Linked DNA regions of Homo sapiens: regions 1, 3, 4 and 5 are each linked to region 2. The links are contacts of gene promoters, found by promoter capture Hi-C in blood cells and fetal thymus (Javierre and others, 2016). All regions are on one chromosome and are shown on one strand. Each heading gives the region's core, a stretch centred on a gene start or on the middle of the fragment in contact. The rest is flanking DNA. Distances are from core to core; before and after follow the strand shown.

The links. Contacts are between HindIII fragments. The CHiCAGO score rates a contact against its expected background, and 5 or more counts as called.
Region 1: a contact is called between a fragment that was not itself captured here and the fragment with the promoter of GAS6 in region 2, in 2 of 17 cell types (total CD8 T cells and naive CD4 T cells). The highest score is 6.2, in total CD8 T cells.
Region 3: a contact is called between a fragment that was not itself captured here and the fragment with the promoter of GAS6 in region 2, in 1 of 17 cell types (naive CD4 T cells). The highest score is 5.0, in naive CD4 T cells.
Region 4: a fragment that was not itself captured here is called in contact with the fragment with the promoter of GAS6 in region 2 in 2 of 17 cell types (activated CD4 T cells and endothelial precursors); the score reaches 5.2 in activated CD4 T cells.
Region 5: a fragment that was not itself captured here is called in contact with the fragment with the promoter of GAS6 in region 2 in 2 of 17 cell types (naive CD4 T cells and naive CD8 T cells); the score reaches 5.9 in naive CD4 T cells.

What each region holds. Positions count from the first base shown.
Region 1 is chr13:114,324,146-114,326,845 of GRCh38, reverse strand. It overlaps CHAMP1 (chromosome alignment maintaining phosphoprotein 1), which reads right to left. Exons shown (of 3, transcript NM_032436.4): 3 at 1-2,700. The coding sequence ends at 565. Among named protein-coding and RNA genes, the nearest start is that of LINC01054, 8.5 kb to the left of the region's middle. The HindIII fragment of the contact is 721 bases long and covers 935-1,655 here.
Region 2 is chr13:113,862,663-113,865,362 of GRCh38, reverse strand. It overlaps GAS6 (growth arrest specific 6), which reads left to right and starts at 1,287. Exons shown (of 15, transcript NM_000820.4): 1 at 1,287-1,530; 2 at 1,622-1,788. The coding sequence starts at 1,443. It overlaps GAS6-DT (GAS6 divergent transcript), which reads right to left and starts at 1,186. Exons shown (of 2, transcript NR_044993.1): 1 at 1,068-1,186; 2 at 1-353. RefSeq lists silencers at 1,594-1,653, 1,674-1,733, 2,214-2,263 and an enhancer at 1,282-1,873. The HindIII fragment of the contact is 18,327 bases long and covers 1-2,700 here.
Region 3 is chr13:114,246,779-114,249,478 of GRCh38, reverse strand. It overlaps CDC16 (cell division cycle 16), which reads right to left. Exons shown (of 18, transcript NM_001078645.3): 11 at 2,475-2,548. Among named protein-coding and RNA genes, the nearest start is that of MIR548AR, 3.6 kb to the right of the region's middle. The HindIII fragment of the contact is 2,268 bases long and covers 150-2,417 here.
Region 4 is chr13:114,222,915-114,225,614 of GRCh38, reverse strand. CFAP97D2 (CFAP97 domain containing 2) reads right to left here. Exons shown (of 4, transcript NM_001395229.1): 4 at 2,530-2,700. Among named protein-coding and RNA genes, the nearest start is that of CDC16, 11 kb to the left of the region's middle. The HindIII fragment of the contact is 7,731 bases long and covers 1-2,700 here.
Region 5 is chr13:114,264,211-114,266,910 of GRCh38, reverse strand. It overlaps CDC16 (cell division cycle 16), which reads right to left. Exons shown (of 18, transcript NM_001078645.3): 17 at 1,671-1,761. The region is part of intron 2 of LOC105370384 (a long non-coding RNA gene); the gene reads left to right. Among named protein-coding and RNA genes, the nearest start is that of MIR4502, 8.3 kb to the left of the region's middle. The HindIII fragment of the contact is 558 bases long and covers 1,124-1,681 here.

The sequences.
Region 1 (2,700 bases), core at 46-2,545, 460 kb before region 2:
CATTAGCAGAAAATCAGCAACCCTGAGACTCCAACATTTCATGACATAAAAGCTAATAAACATCTAGAAGCTGATTAAGATTTATAAACTAATTTTACATCAGATAGAAAATAACTCTTATGATTTAAAAATACATGTAAGGAAACAAAATTTCTCAAATTTATTTTTCATGCCTAATTCTTAAACATTTCAACTAATATTTTCTATTGTCTGAAATTAGTTCCACACACAGATACACTTTAACTGAATGCTTTGAGTACAACTTGCTCTTGATTATTAAATGGAATGCCTACTTCCTTGTATTATTATTCATACATATTTAAAAGAAATGAGAAGTTTAATCCATCTGGACTATACAGAAATTTATTGACTTACAAGATAGTCACATAGACAGAGACCAGAAAAAAATGATCAAATGCTCATTCTTAGTAACACAACTGAGACAGTGAAACACGGTACACCATACATGTCATCTACTGATCCAACTATGCTATCTGATAAGCTATACTTACAAAGAATGGTTCCAACAAACACCTTTGTAGAACAAATATTCACACTGTGTTATCAAATTTGCTGCTCCTCCAGTGGCGGTTCAAGAGCTTCCATTAGCTTTTTATTTGCCTCTTCATTATGCCGGCTTTGACAATGAGTTAAATGTTTCTTAAAACCTCTTGGGAAATTTGATTCAAAATTACAACGTGGACATTTAAGTAAACTTTGCCCATGGGCTGCTACATGATTTTTAAGGAGAGATTCCAAAAGAAAAGCCTTTCCACAGATTGTGCATTTGTAAGGGCTATGAACATTATGCTTATTAACCAAATGATGCAAAACAGCACCTTTTTTCATAGCACGACAGCAACAAATTTTGCAATAATACTTTCCTTTTCCACGCTTCATGTATTTTGCAATCTCCTCTTCAGAGATAAAAGCTTCTTTTTCTTCAGTAAACTGTAGCACATTTCTAGACTGCTCTGGACTAGTCATGTCCATTTTGTTCTCTTTGCTAAAATCAATGGATTCCACATCAACCTGCTCTTGATCACTGCTTGATTCCTGGCCCTTAATATCCATCGCATCCAAATCTGTTTTTATGTACTCACTACTACTAAGCTCAGCGTCTGAGCTCTCTTGGTTGTCTTTCTTGAGCTTCTTTGAGGAAGGAAATAAAGTATCTTCTAAGAGTTTCTTAGGTGAAGCTAGAAGTTCTTCCTGAACCAAAATATCACATTTTTGATCATCTATGGCATCTATTTGTAGTTCATCACCAAGCTCAACAGCCTTCTGTGATTCTGAGAATAGAGCAGATTTGGGGAGTTCAGGGAAAAGGGCATGCTTCCGGGGCTCTGGAAAAAGGGCACGTTTGCGTGCTTCTGGAGAAGCAGGAGGGGCTGTTTTGGCAGGCTCGGGAAACAGGGCAGGTTTTCTAGGCTCAGTATCGATAGAGAGAACAGGCTTCCAGATATCTGAGGCTGCTTTGGGGGACTCAGATGGCCCAGAAGGACCTGGTTTTCGGGTCTCAGGGAAGACAGGTTTCTGAGGCTCAATAAAAAAGGAAGACTTCCAGAGATCAGGAGAACCACCACGGGAACTTTTCTGGGACTCAGGGAAATCAAGTGAAGCAGGAGAAGTTTTCCGCTGATCAGGAGAAAGCTTCCAAAGATCTGGTGACCCTGAGGGTTTTCTGAGCTCTGGAGATCCTGCTGGACTACGGATCTCTGGGGATAGTGGTGGGCCGGGTTTGCGAAGCTCTGGAGACACTGGGGGAACTGCCTTCCAATGTTCAGGAGACAACGTGGGAGCTGTCTTTCGGAGTTCTGGTGGGCCAGACTTCCATGACTCAGGAGATGCAGGGGGAGACTTCCAGGAGCTGGGTGAGACTGATGAAGATTTCCAGGATGCAGAAGACACAGATGGAGTTGGTTTCCAAGGTCCAGGAGATACAGAAGGAATTGGTTTCCAAGGTCCAGGAGACACAGATGGAGCAGGTTTAGCTGGCTTCCAAGGTCCTGATGATGCTGAAGGATTGGATTTCCAAGGCCTAGGGGACCCAGGTGGCCCTGGTTTCCAAGAGCCTGGTGACACAGCGGGGGCTGGTCTCCTAGGCTCTGGGGAGACAGCAGGGAACGGCTTCCAAGGTTCAGGAGACTCTGAAGGGGATGGCTTCCTTGGCTCAGGGGAGGTAGTCCGGGCTGACTTCCGAGATTCTGGAGATGCAGCTGGGGATGGTCCCCAAGGTTCTGGGGAAGCAGCTAGAACTGGTGACTCTGGAGATGAGGCTGAAGGTGGCCCCAATGTTTCCGGGAAATGAGACTGCTTCTGGGGTTTGGGATTACTAAGAGTAGCCTTTACTGACTCAGGAGATACAGGGGCAGGTTTCTGTGGTTCTGGAGAAGGAACAGGGGCAAGTTTCTGAGACTCACAAACAGGGACTGATTTTGGAGGTTCAGGAGAAGAAACAGAGGCAGGTTTTGAAGGCTCAGGAGAAGGAAGAGGTGTCTGTAGCTCAGGAGAAACAACAGAGCCAGGTTTCTGAGGCTCCAGGGGAGTAAGAGGAGTAGGTTTTGGCGATTCTGGAGACAAAACTGAACCAAGTTTCTGTGTTTCCATTGAAAGGGCAGGTATGGATTTTGGTTCTGCTGAATTGCAGGGTATTTTCTGGTGTTCAGGAAGAGGAGGGCTTTTCACAGGATCTGTTTC
Region 2 (2,700 bases), core at 38-2,537:
TGACTTCTCTATCCCACTTTAATTCTCCTTGAAGATCATTCCCAGGGACATTCATTTGCTTAAATTAACATGCTCGGCCAGGCGCGGTGGCTCACACCTGTAATCCCAGCACTTTGGGAGGCCCAGGCGGGCGGATCACGAGGTCAGGAGATTGAGATCATCCTGGCTAACACGGTGAAACCCCGTCTCTACTAAAAATAAAAAAAATCAGCCGGGCGTGGTGGCGGGCGCCTGTGGTCCCAGCTACTCGGGAGGCTGAGGCAGGAGAATGGCGTGAACCCGGGAGGCGGAGCTTGCAGTGAGCAGAGATCACGCCACTGCACCCCAGCCTGGGCAACATAGCGAGACTCCGTCTGAAAACAAACAAACAACAACAACAAAAATTCATGCTCATAATCCCACTTTCAAACCAGTGACCTCAAAGATTTCTAGCAGCAATCCTATTCCATTCTTCCAATTACAGAAAGCAAAGAGAAACTGGATCTGGGGATCTAAGCGTTGAGCCTGCTGAGCAGAACGGCCATTCATTTGGGGTGAGGTGCTGACTCACTGCCCCTCTACATTGCATTTTGGGGTGTGGGGATTTCCAGAGCAGGATTCTCCAGAGAGGAGTATCCAAGCTCCCTCCTCCCGCAGCAGGGGGATGCTGGGCTAACTGCCTGGTTCGGTCCCCCGTGAGTGGTCTGCTGTGTTTTGGTTCTGTTTGTTTGTGTGTGTTTTGCCTATGACTTTGCGAAATATTCCAAGACAAGAGCCAGAAAGTCTTGGTCTCTGAAGACAAGCACAATGTTGCTTTCAGCTTAAATATCTACTGGGAAACCTCAAGATTTTTAATGTCATCATTATGAAAAACAGAGATTATAAAAGGAAACCGTCGCATTTCACTCGCTGGCCCCCAGTGGGATTGGATCTGACCTCAGTGTATCTTTTCTTTGGTAGGTTTTAAGTCTTGACAAAATGTGCCTAAGAATGAAGACTCCAAAAAGGATGCAGTAGATTCGGGGGGAGTGGGGGTTGGAAAGAGGCTTAAATCTTCACATGACACCTGGAATATGGTCAAAATGTACCTGCTCAAGTTGAACCAGGTATTGCGTCCTCCTTTTACCCCATCGCTAGTGAAGACAACCACCGCCTGGGGAGACGCTCCTTTTCCGAAACACTCGAGTCCCGCCGCGTCCCGGACGCTCCGCTTTCCCCGCGCCCGGATCCTCCCGGGAACCCGCGCCCCGCCCGCGCGCTGGTCCCGCCCCCGCCGCCTCCCCGCGCGCAGCCGCCCGAACACGCCCAGACCGAGCGCTTGAGGTGCCGCAGCCGCCGCCGCCGCCGCCGCCGCGATGTGACCTTCAGGGCCGCCAGGACGGGATGACCGGAGCCTCCGCCCCGCGGCGCCCGCGGCTCGCCTCGGCCTCCCGGGCGCTCTGACCGCGCGTCCCCGGCCCGCCATGGCCCCTTCGCTCTCGCCCGGGCCCGCCGCCCTGCGCCGCGCGCCGCAGCTGCTGCTGCTGCTGCTGGCCGCGGAGTGCGCGCTTGGTGAGTCCCGCGGGCCCGAGACCCCGTCCCCGGGCGGCGGGAGGAGGCTCCGGGCGCGGCTTGACGCGTCCCCCTCTCTCCCTCCGGGCAGCCGCGCTGTTGCCGGCGCGCGAGGCCACGCAGTTCCTGCGGCCCAGGCAGCGCCGCGCCTTTCAGGTCTTCGAGGAGGCCAAGCAGGGCCACCTGGAGAGGGAGTGCGTGGAGGAGCTGTGCAGCCGCGAGGAGGCGCGGGAGGTGTTCGAGAACGACCCCGAGACGGTGAGCAGCCGGCGGGCGGGATGCGGGGGAACCCCTGGCGCCCGCGCGCCTCCAACCGCTCCCGAGAGGCAGCGCTGCTGCCGCCCCCCAGCTCCGCGCGGCGAGGCCTGGCCTCAGGGTCCCAGGAGCCCCGGCCCGCCCCGCGTCCCCCACGCCCATCCCCCGGCGACCCCGGGATCCCCGCGCAGGCCGGTGAGACGCTGCGGGGCTGTCCGGGAAACGCTCGCTGTCAGACGCCTCCCCGCGGGGAAGCCGGGAGTCCGTTTCCAAAGTGCGAGAGAAACACAATGGTTAAAACCCAAACCGCTTCCCCGCGGCCCTCCCTCTGCTGGGCTGGAGGTGAGGAACCCCCGGGCCGCGCCTCGTCCTCCTGAGAGGGGTGGAGAGCAGTCCCCTCCCGAAAGAGGAATTGAAAGGGCCGAGGGCGGGAACTGCTTGCGGCAGCAGGTCCAAAAATAAGATTCCAGGAATCGAGCGGGGCCGCATGCGGGAGGGGAGGGCGGCTCCGCGGCCCCGTTCTGCCAGGTGCTCTCCTGGAGGCAGCGGGTGCTTTCAGGAGCCCGACGGTGCTGGCCCCGGCACCTCGGTTAGGAATGTCCTTGGAGAAGGCGGGGCGCCCGGGGCCGCCTCCCGCAGGAGCCGCCGTGTGAGGACGGCCTGGCCACTCTATCCTGCGGGCTCGGGAGCGGGTGACTTTGGAAAGTCCGAGAAGGTGTGGATTCCCGTTGACGTCCCTCCCGCCCTGAAGTCAGGGTGATTTCATAGCGAAGTTTTCCGTTCTGCTGGAATGTTCCTTTTAAAGAATTCTCCTGGGGTGGAATAAATGTCACCCGGGATGAAAGAGTGGTTCTGGATGAACCATGGAGGCCTGTTTCCGCTTACATTTCTAGTGGTTGACTTGACCCCTCTTAG
Region 3 (2,700 bases), core at 34-2,533, 380 kb before region 2:
AGAGCAGGGGTCCCAACCCCTGGGCCACAGACTGGTATCAGTCCCTGGCCTATTAGGAACCAGGCGGCACAGCAGGAGGTGAGTGGCAGGCAGGTGAGTAAAGCTTCATATGTCAAGAAAGAACTTGCCATTTGAAAAAAAAAAAAGCTTAATCTGTATTTACAGCCACTCCCCTTCACTTGCATTTCCGCCTGAGCTCTGCCTCCTGTCAGATCAGAGGCATTAGGTTCTCGTAAGTGCGCAAACCCTATTGTTAACTGCACATGTGAGGGATCTAGGTGGCGCACTCCTTACGAGAATCTAATGCCTGATGACCTGTCGCTGTCTCCCATCTCTCCCAGATGGGACCATCTAGTTGCAGGAAAACAAGCTCAGGGCTCCCACTGATTCTTCATTATAGTGAGTTGTATAATTATTTCATTATATGCTACAATGTAATAATAATAGAAAAAAGCACACGATAAATGTAATGCGCTTGAATCATCAAGAAACCAGTCCCCCCACCCTGGGAGGGGGGGCTTCTACAAAATGGTCCCTGGTGCCAAAAATGTTGGGGACCACTGATAAGAGTCCATCACTGAATTGCACGCTAGATCAAAGCAGCATAGCTCAAAATAACTTTTACAATACTAATCATCTTTCTATGTAGAAGTTCTTCTAAAATGCTGAACATACAACCAACCAGGGAACATTCTAGTTTCTTCCTAGTACAGGGTACTTTCGTGGCATCAGTCTTCCTAACAATCCTGCTATATGAGTATGACATCTCCCCCACCCCCACTCCCTTTTATTTTTTTTGAGACAGAGTCTCACTCTGTCGGCGAGGCTGGAGTGCAGTAGTGCAATCTCAGCTCACTACAACCTCCACCTCCTGGACTCAAACAATTCTCCTCCCTCAGCCTCCCAAGTAGCGGGGATTACAGGTGCATGCCACCATGTCCAGCTGATTTTTTTATTTTTAGTAGAGACAGACTTTCACCATGTTGGCCAGGCTGGTCTCGAACTCCTGACCTAAGGTAATCTGCCTGTCTCGGCCTCCCAAAGTGTTGGGATTACAGGCGTGAGCCACCACGCCTGGCTGACATCCCCATTTTTAAAGAAAGAGAGAGCAGGAGAAATTAACTTTCCCAAGGAATTTCAGTTGGTAAGTCACAGAACTTGGATTAGAATTCAAATTTGACTCCAAAGTTTATGCTGTTTCCGTTAGAGACCAATTCTGTTTTATTTGCACGGAAGAAACCACAGAAATTAGAACATTTACAGAGTTTAAGTAATTAATTCTTCACATACTTGACATTTTTCTAAACTTGAATAATACTGGTTAAATAGCTTCACTAGGCTGCATGGCTTTCCTTAAGTTAAAACCACAGCAAATCATTACATGAATCAGTTCACCCTGCTAAGAATTCTGTTTTATAGTCACATTTAGTGACCCCAATTTTACATAAAGTTTTGTGTAATTTCACAACTATTAATAAAAGAAATCCTAAAAGTAAAAGGTTAACAGGATCTCTGTAAGCGAAAGAGAGAAACTTTCAAACTACATTATTCTCTATTGTTTCATATTTATTCTCATTTATTAATTATTATTATTATTTTTTTGAGACAGAGTTTTGCTCTTGTCACCCAGACTGGAGTGCAATGGTGCGATATCAGCTCACTGCAACCTCCACTTTCCAGGTTCAAGCGATTCTCCTGTCTCAGCCTCCCGAGTAGCTGGGATGCAGATGCCCACTACTATATCTGGCTAATTTTTTGTATTTTTAGTAGACAGAGTTTCACCATGTTAGTCAGGCTGGTCTTGAACTCCTGACCTCAGGTGATCCACCTGCATTGACCTCCCAAAGTGCTGGCATAACAGGTGTGAGCCACCATGCCTGGCCATTTATTCTCATTAATAAATAAAATATGTAGGTTCCCTGAGAATAGGGTCTACATCACTGATTTTTTTTTTCTCTCTCTCCCCATGGCATCTTATAAAGAACAAACCACTTGAAGAAAACATTTATTCAGCCAGGCATGGTGGCTCATGCCTGTCATCTCAACACTTTCGGAGGCCGAAGCAAGAGGACTGCTTGAGGCCAGGAGTTCAAGACCAGCCTAGGCAACACAGTGAGATTCGTCTCTACTAAAAAAAAAAAAAAATGTTTAAATCAGCTAGGCATGGTGGTGCCTGTAGTCCCAGCTACTCGGGAGGCTGAGCAAGAGGATCATTTGAGTTTGAGGTGAGCTATTATTGCACCACTGCACTCTAGTCTGGGCAACAGAGTGAGAACCCTCGAGAGAGAGGGGAGGGGAGGTGAGAAGGAAAAGAAAAGGCAAGAAAGAAAGAGAGAAAGAAAAGAAAGGAAGAAAAAAAAAAACATTTATTCTTTCACATTGCTTTTAAAGTACTCACTAATTACTACTTGAAAGCTTATGAGCAAGACATCAATTCTACAGGTTAACTAGAGAGGAAAAAAATAAATTCATACCTGAGATATCTTCTGGCATGTTCATTTTTATGACCGACCATGAGATAGTAACATCCCACTGCAAACCAAGACACCTAAAAAGTTCAAAATTTACCATAAACAAAGATTGGAATTGGAATATCTAATTGGAATCTGCAACAAATTAGGGTAGACAGAGGGTATACTACATGTTCCTTATCACATATTCTAGTTAAGTTAGACATTTCTCTAATACAGTCTACTAAGG
Region 4 (2,700 bases), core at 121-2,620, 360 kb before region 2:
ACTCCCCCGGCTTCGCTTCTCCTCCCCTCCCCCTTTCCATCCCCCCTCCCTCCCCTCCCCCTTTCCCTCCCCCTCCTTCCCCTCCCCCTTTCCCTCCCCCTCCCTCCCCTCCCCCTTTCCCTCCCCCTCCCTCCCCTCCCCCTTTCCCTCCCCCTCCCTCCCCTTCCCCTCCCCCCTCCCCCCTCCCCTTCCTCCCCTCCCCTTTCCCCCCTCACTTCTCCTCCCCTCCCTAGCCCTTCCCCCTCCCCCTCCCTCCTCTGTCCTCCTCCTCCTCCTTCTGTCTCTTCCCCTCCTCTTCCACTATAGGACTACTTTTCTACCTTCTTTTCCCTTCTCCCTTCTTCTCTCCCTCCTTTATTTTCTTCCTTTCTATATTTAACACGTATTTCCTGTGTGCCCACCTCACACAGGATAGACAGGCTTCTGTCCTCACTGCTCCATCCATTATATTTATGATGGTTTTAAAGCATTTCAAAGTTCTATAGGTTTCAATTAATTTGATACCCAGAGTAACATGGGACAGACACATCTCTGGATCTGAAAATGCACCTGGTACTTGACTTTTCAGGTCATCAGAGCTTGTGGGTGGCTGGTTTTTACACTAAGGCTGCTGGCAGGATGCTCATTTGTCCACTGACTCTCTGAGCAAAGTCCAGAAGGGAAAAGAGCTGACATTATGGCTCTTCTGTGTAATGGCAAGATTTTGTCTACTTCTTGACTATGTGTAGCAATTTGTCAGTCTTTATAAACTGTTTGCTCTCTGGAAAGAGAGATTGAAAAGAGAACAATGTTCTCAGGACCAGACAGCAGCCTTTCTAGTTTTGTGATAGATCCTTTGACGTTCATTGCATTAGGGCCCATCAGGGAGGGCTGGCAGAGGCCAGGACTCCTACAGCACAACCCTTGTGGGGTGGAACAAGGTGGGGACACACAGGCAGGCACATTCGGAAAATGCTGCCAGAGTCAACCCTAAACTGCCACCTCGAAAAGGAGGTGCAAATTCGAGGCTTGCAAACCAAGGACACAAATCGCTATGGAGAGGCCATTTTTTCCATCAAGTTTAGCACAGACGTGGACTGTTAATGGAGGTCCTGTGCCCAGTTGCGCTTCACGACACAGGGGGGCGGGGCTGCCTGGAGAGGTCATGGCTGCAGTGGGCAGAGGCCCAGCTCCTCCCGGCCCGATGCCGGCATCTCAGGCTCCAGCACCACCTGCTGCACAGGAGAGGCTTCGGGAGGTCCACTCGGGGGATCAGCAGGAGACCCAGAATCCACATCCAGGCCTGTCTGACCCCACAGTCTGTGATTTTAAACACTGTCAATGGAAGGTCCACCCTGAGGAGCGGTGAGGAACCTGGGATTGCCGAATTCTGCATGGAGGAGCCGGAGGCAAGCTCTGCTATTCATGTCAAGTGTATTTTAAAGGGGCTTGTGCATAAAGGAATGAAATAAGGAATGAAATTAGCTGCTGCTTCTTTTTTTTTTTTTTTTTTTTTTTGGTAGAGACGGGGTCTCATCATGTGGCCCAGGCTGGTCTTGAATTCCTGGGCTCATGCGACCCTCCCACCTTGGCCTCCCAAACTGCTGGGAATGTAGGTGTGCGATACCATGCCCAGCCTGAAATTATCTTCTTATTTTCATTCAAACAAAACAAAACAAAAATTTAAATCTATAATATAGGTTAAAAATAGCAAAGAGTACTTTGGGAGGCCAAGGCAGACAGATCACCTGAGGTCAGGCATTCAAGACCAGCCTGGTCAACATGGTGAAACCCCGTCTCTACTAAAAATACAAAAATTAGCTGGGAGTGGTGGTGCATGTGCCTGTAATCCCATCCATCTCAAAAAATAAATAAATAAAATAAAAATAATAAATAAATAAATAGCAAAGAGTAGTTAGGGACCGTGACATTTCTGAGGGGCTAGCTATCAGCTCCATGAGGCTGAGACTACATATGCAGAGTTCTGTTGAATGAATGAAGGTGTGTGTGAGTCTTTTAACTCATTTTTAAAAGGCATTGCCCATGGGCTGATGTTCATTGTTGTGGAACAGCTTAGGCGGGATCTTACCTGGGGCTGATAGAGAACTAAGCAGATCCCAAGGGCTCTCAGACATACCCTTGATGTCTCCAACCGAGACTCTCTGGGTCCTTTTTTCTTTTCTTTTCTTTTCTTTTTTCTTTCTTTTTTTTTTTTTTTTTGAGATGGAGTCTTGCTCTGTCGCCCCGGTTGGAGTGCAGTGGCGCGTTCTCGGCTCACTGCAACCTCCATCTCCCAGGTTCAAGCGATTCTCCTGCCTCAGCCTTCTGAGTAGCTGGGATTACAGGTGCCCGCCACCATGCCTGGCTAACTTCTTTGTATTTTTAGTAGAGATGGGGTTTCACCATGTTGGTCAGGCTGGTCTCGAACTCCTCACCTTGTGATCCGCCCACCTCGGCCCCTCAAAGTGCTGGGATTACAGGCGTGAGCCATCGTGCCTGGCCCTCTGGGTCTTTTTTATATCTTAGGTTATGTATTCTGGAGTCAAGCTGTAGTTTCATCACGTTCAAAAATTTTAATCTGATTTATTTAGATATTTGTTAAAGGAACAATCACAGAGCTTTTAAGGTAAGTTAAAAATCCACCTAGGAATTATAGACAAATCCACCACAGCTCAAAATACAGTAACAGAATAAGTCTTCATAGCTAGAGAAAACAATCTA
Region 5 (2,700 bases), core at 153-2,652, 400 kb before region 2:
TCCTGGCGAACACTGTGAAACCCCATCACTACTAAAAATACAAAAAAATTAGCCGGGCGTGGTGATGGGTGCCTGTAGTCCCAGCTACTCAGGAGGCTGAGGCAGGAGAATGGCATGAACCCCGGTGAGGGGGAGCTTGCAGTGAGCAGAGATCCTGCCACTGCACTCCACCCTGGGCGACAGAGCGAGACTCCGTCTCAAAAAAAAAAAAAGATTCAGTAATATTAATAAAATTTGAGATATATAGGGTTAGAACCCAACACATGCAGAGAAAAACTGTTTATACTGCCGTAGAGCAGGAAACGAAACCCAGGTTCTAAGGGGGCAGGGAAACTGTTTGCTAGGTGTGCCATGAGCTACCACACAAGTGCATCAGTGACTGGGCATAGAGCAGGCACAATTACAGGATGGTTAAGAGAGTGAGCTGTGGAGCCTATGGGAACATGCATTTTTAAACTGTGATGTGCCTCAGTTTATCCAACTTTACAATGGGTATTACTCATTTTTTGTTTTTCTTCTCAGTTGGCTAGATTAGTTCCCCAGTCTGTCTTCTCGCCACTCTGGATGTCCACATGAGAGGACCCAAGGTAATTTCTGACAGCCTCGGGCTCCTTGGGAAAACCAGAGGGTGCCACAGACCCCGTTTTAGGAGAAACCTCTGTTTTCCTCAGGGAACCCCAAGACACATAAGCAGACAGATCCCTCTCAAAATCTAAGGCTCTGCTCTGTTTTGTATCACATTACCTGATCTTTTTGACTTTGGGGGAAATTACATCAGAAATTACTTTAGTAGGGGCTGGGCGCAGTGGCTCATGCCTGTTATCCCAGCACTTTGAGAGGCCGAGGCAGGCAGATCACCTGAGGTCAGGAGTTCAAGACCAGTCTGGCCTGAACATGGAGAAGACCAGTCTCTACTAAAAATACATAATTAGCTAGGCGTGGTAGCACATGCCTGTAATCCAAGCTACTCAGGAGGCTGAGGTAGGAGAATAGCTTGAACCAGGGAGGCAGGGGTTGCGGTGGGCAGAGGTTGCGCCATTGCACTCCAGCCTGGGCAACAAGAGCGAAGCTCCATCTCAAAAAAAAAAAAAATTACTTTAGTAGGAACGGGAGTTAGCAAGCTTGCAACTTTCCTATCCTAGATCTCAATAACCTCACCACATCCTCCTTATCACATAATGTTTATAACTAAACGAGTGCCCAAGTACAGCAATTCCATCCAAACTTATACTATTACTTATTCACTGTTATGGAAATGTATGGCATCTCAACATTCTATTGAAATGTAAAGATTTATATTGTTATACCCTGCATTATAAAATAATGACAGAGCCTCTTCAATTGTTTATCAGAAAAATGTTGCTAAGATTTCTTTTCCCATTATAGAAACAGATGAGTCCTTCTATAACAAAGTGCTTTACACATATTCTATAGTGGTATTTTGCACTTAGCAAGTATTCAGCTTTAAACTGAACGCACCCTTGGTGAGTCACTAACTCCCCCACAGCATTGTTCTAATAAAATAAATGGAGTTTCTTGTTTTTAATGCAGCACGAATGGTTAGAAAGATGAACTTGGAACCTCAGACGAGAATATGAGAAACATAAACAGAGACATATGACAACCTAAAAAATGGAGTACAATACCAATAAGAATAACGATTATCTTACCAATATAAGCTTCAGAATCACCAATGTACATTTCGATGCAATGACCAAGCATTGTAACAGAAAATGTATCATCTCGCCTAAGACCAAGGGCCTGCCATAAAAGATTCAGCATGGTTATTAAAAGAAAACATATTTCCTTCTCTTACCACACTGATTCATTTCAAAATATTCCAGGGCATCCAGGGTGGGGGAAGTGGCCAGACATAGCTACATGACTGGCCATGAACCAAAGATTGTTGAAGTTGGTTATGGGTCATGGAGGTTCATCACACTATTCTATTTTCTTATGCTGGAAATCTACCCCAAAAAAGATTTTTTAAAAAGTTCTATCTCGACTGGGCGCAGTGGCTCATGCCTGTAATCCCAGCACTTTGGGAGGCCTAGACGGGTGGATCACCTGGGCTCAGGAGTTCGAGACCAGCCTGACCAAAACATGGTGAAACCCCGTCTCTAATAAAAAATACAAAAATTAGCCAGGCATGGTAGCAGGTGCCTGTAATCCTAGATACTCTGGAGGCTGAGGCAGGAAAACTGCTGGGAGGTGGAGGTTGCAGTGAGCCGAGATCGTACCACTGCACTCTAGCCTAGGCGACAAAGCAAAATACTATCTCAAAAGAAAAAAAAGAAGTTCTATCTCCATACAGAGTTCTCTGAGCCTTCTGTATTTTTTTCCTTTTTTTTTGAGACAGAGTCTCGCTCTGTCACCAGGCTGGAATGCAGTGGCGCGATCTCAGCTCACTGCAACCTCCGCCTCCCGGGTTCAAGCAAGTCTCCTACCTCAGCCTGGGACCGGGCGCAGGGCTAGTAGCTGGGACTACAGGCATGTGCTACCATGCCCAGCTAATTTTTCTATTTTTAGTAGAGACGGGGTTTCACCATATTGGTCAGGATGGTCTCGATCTCTTGACCTCATGATCTGCCCACCTCGGCCTCCCAATGTGCTGGGATTACAGGCGTGAGCCACCGCGCCCAGCTGAGCCTTCTGTATTAATCAGATCTCAGAAGAAAGGTAAATTATACAATACTCAAA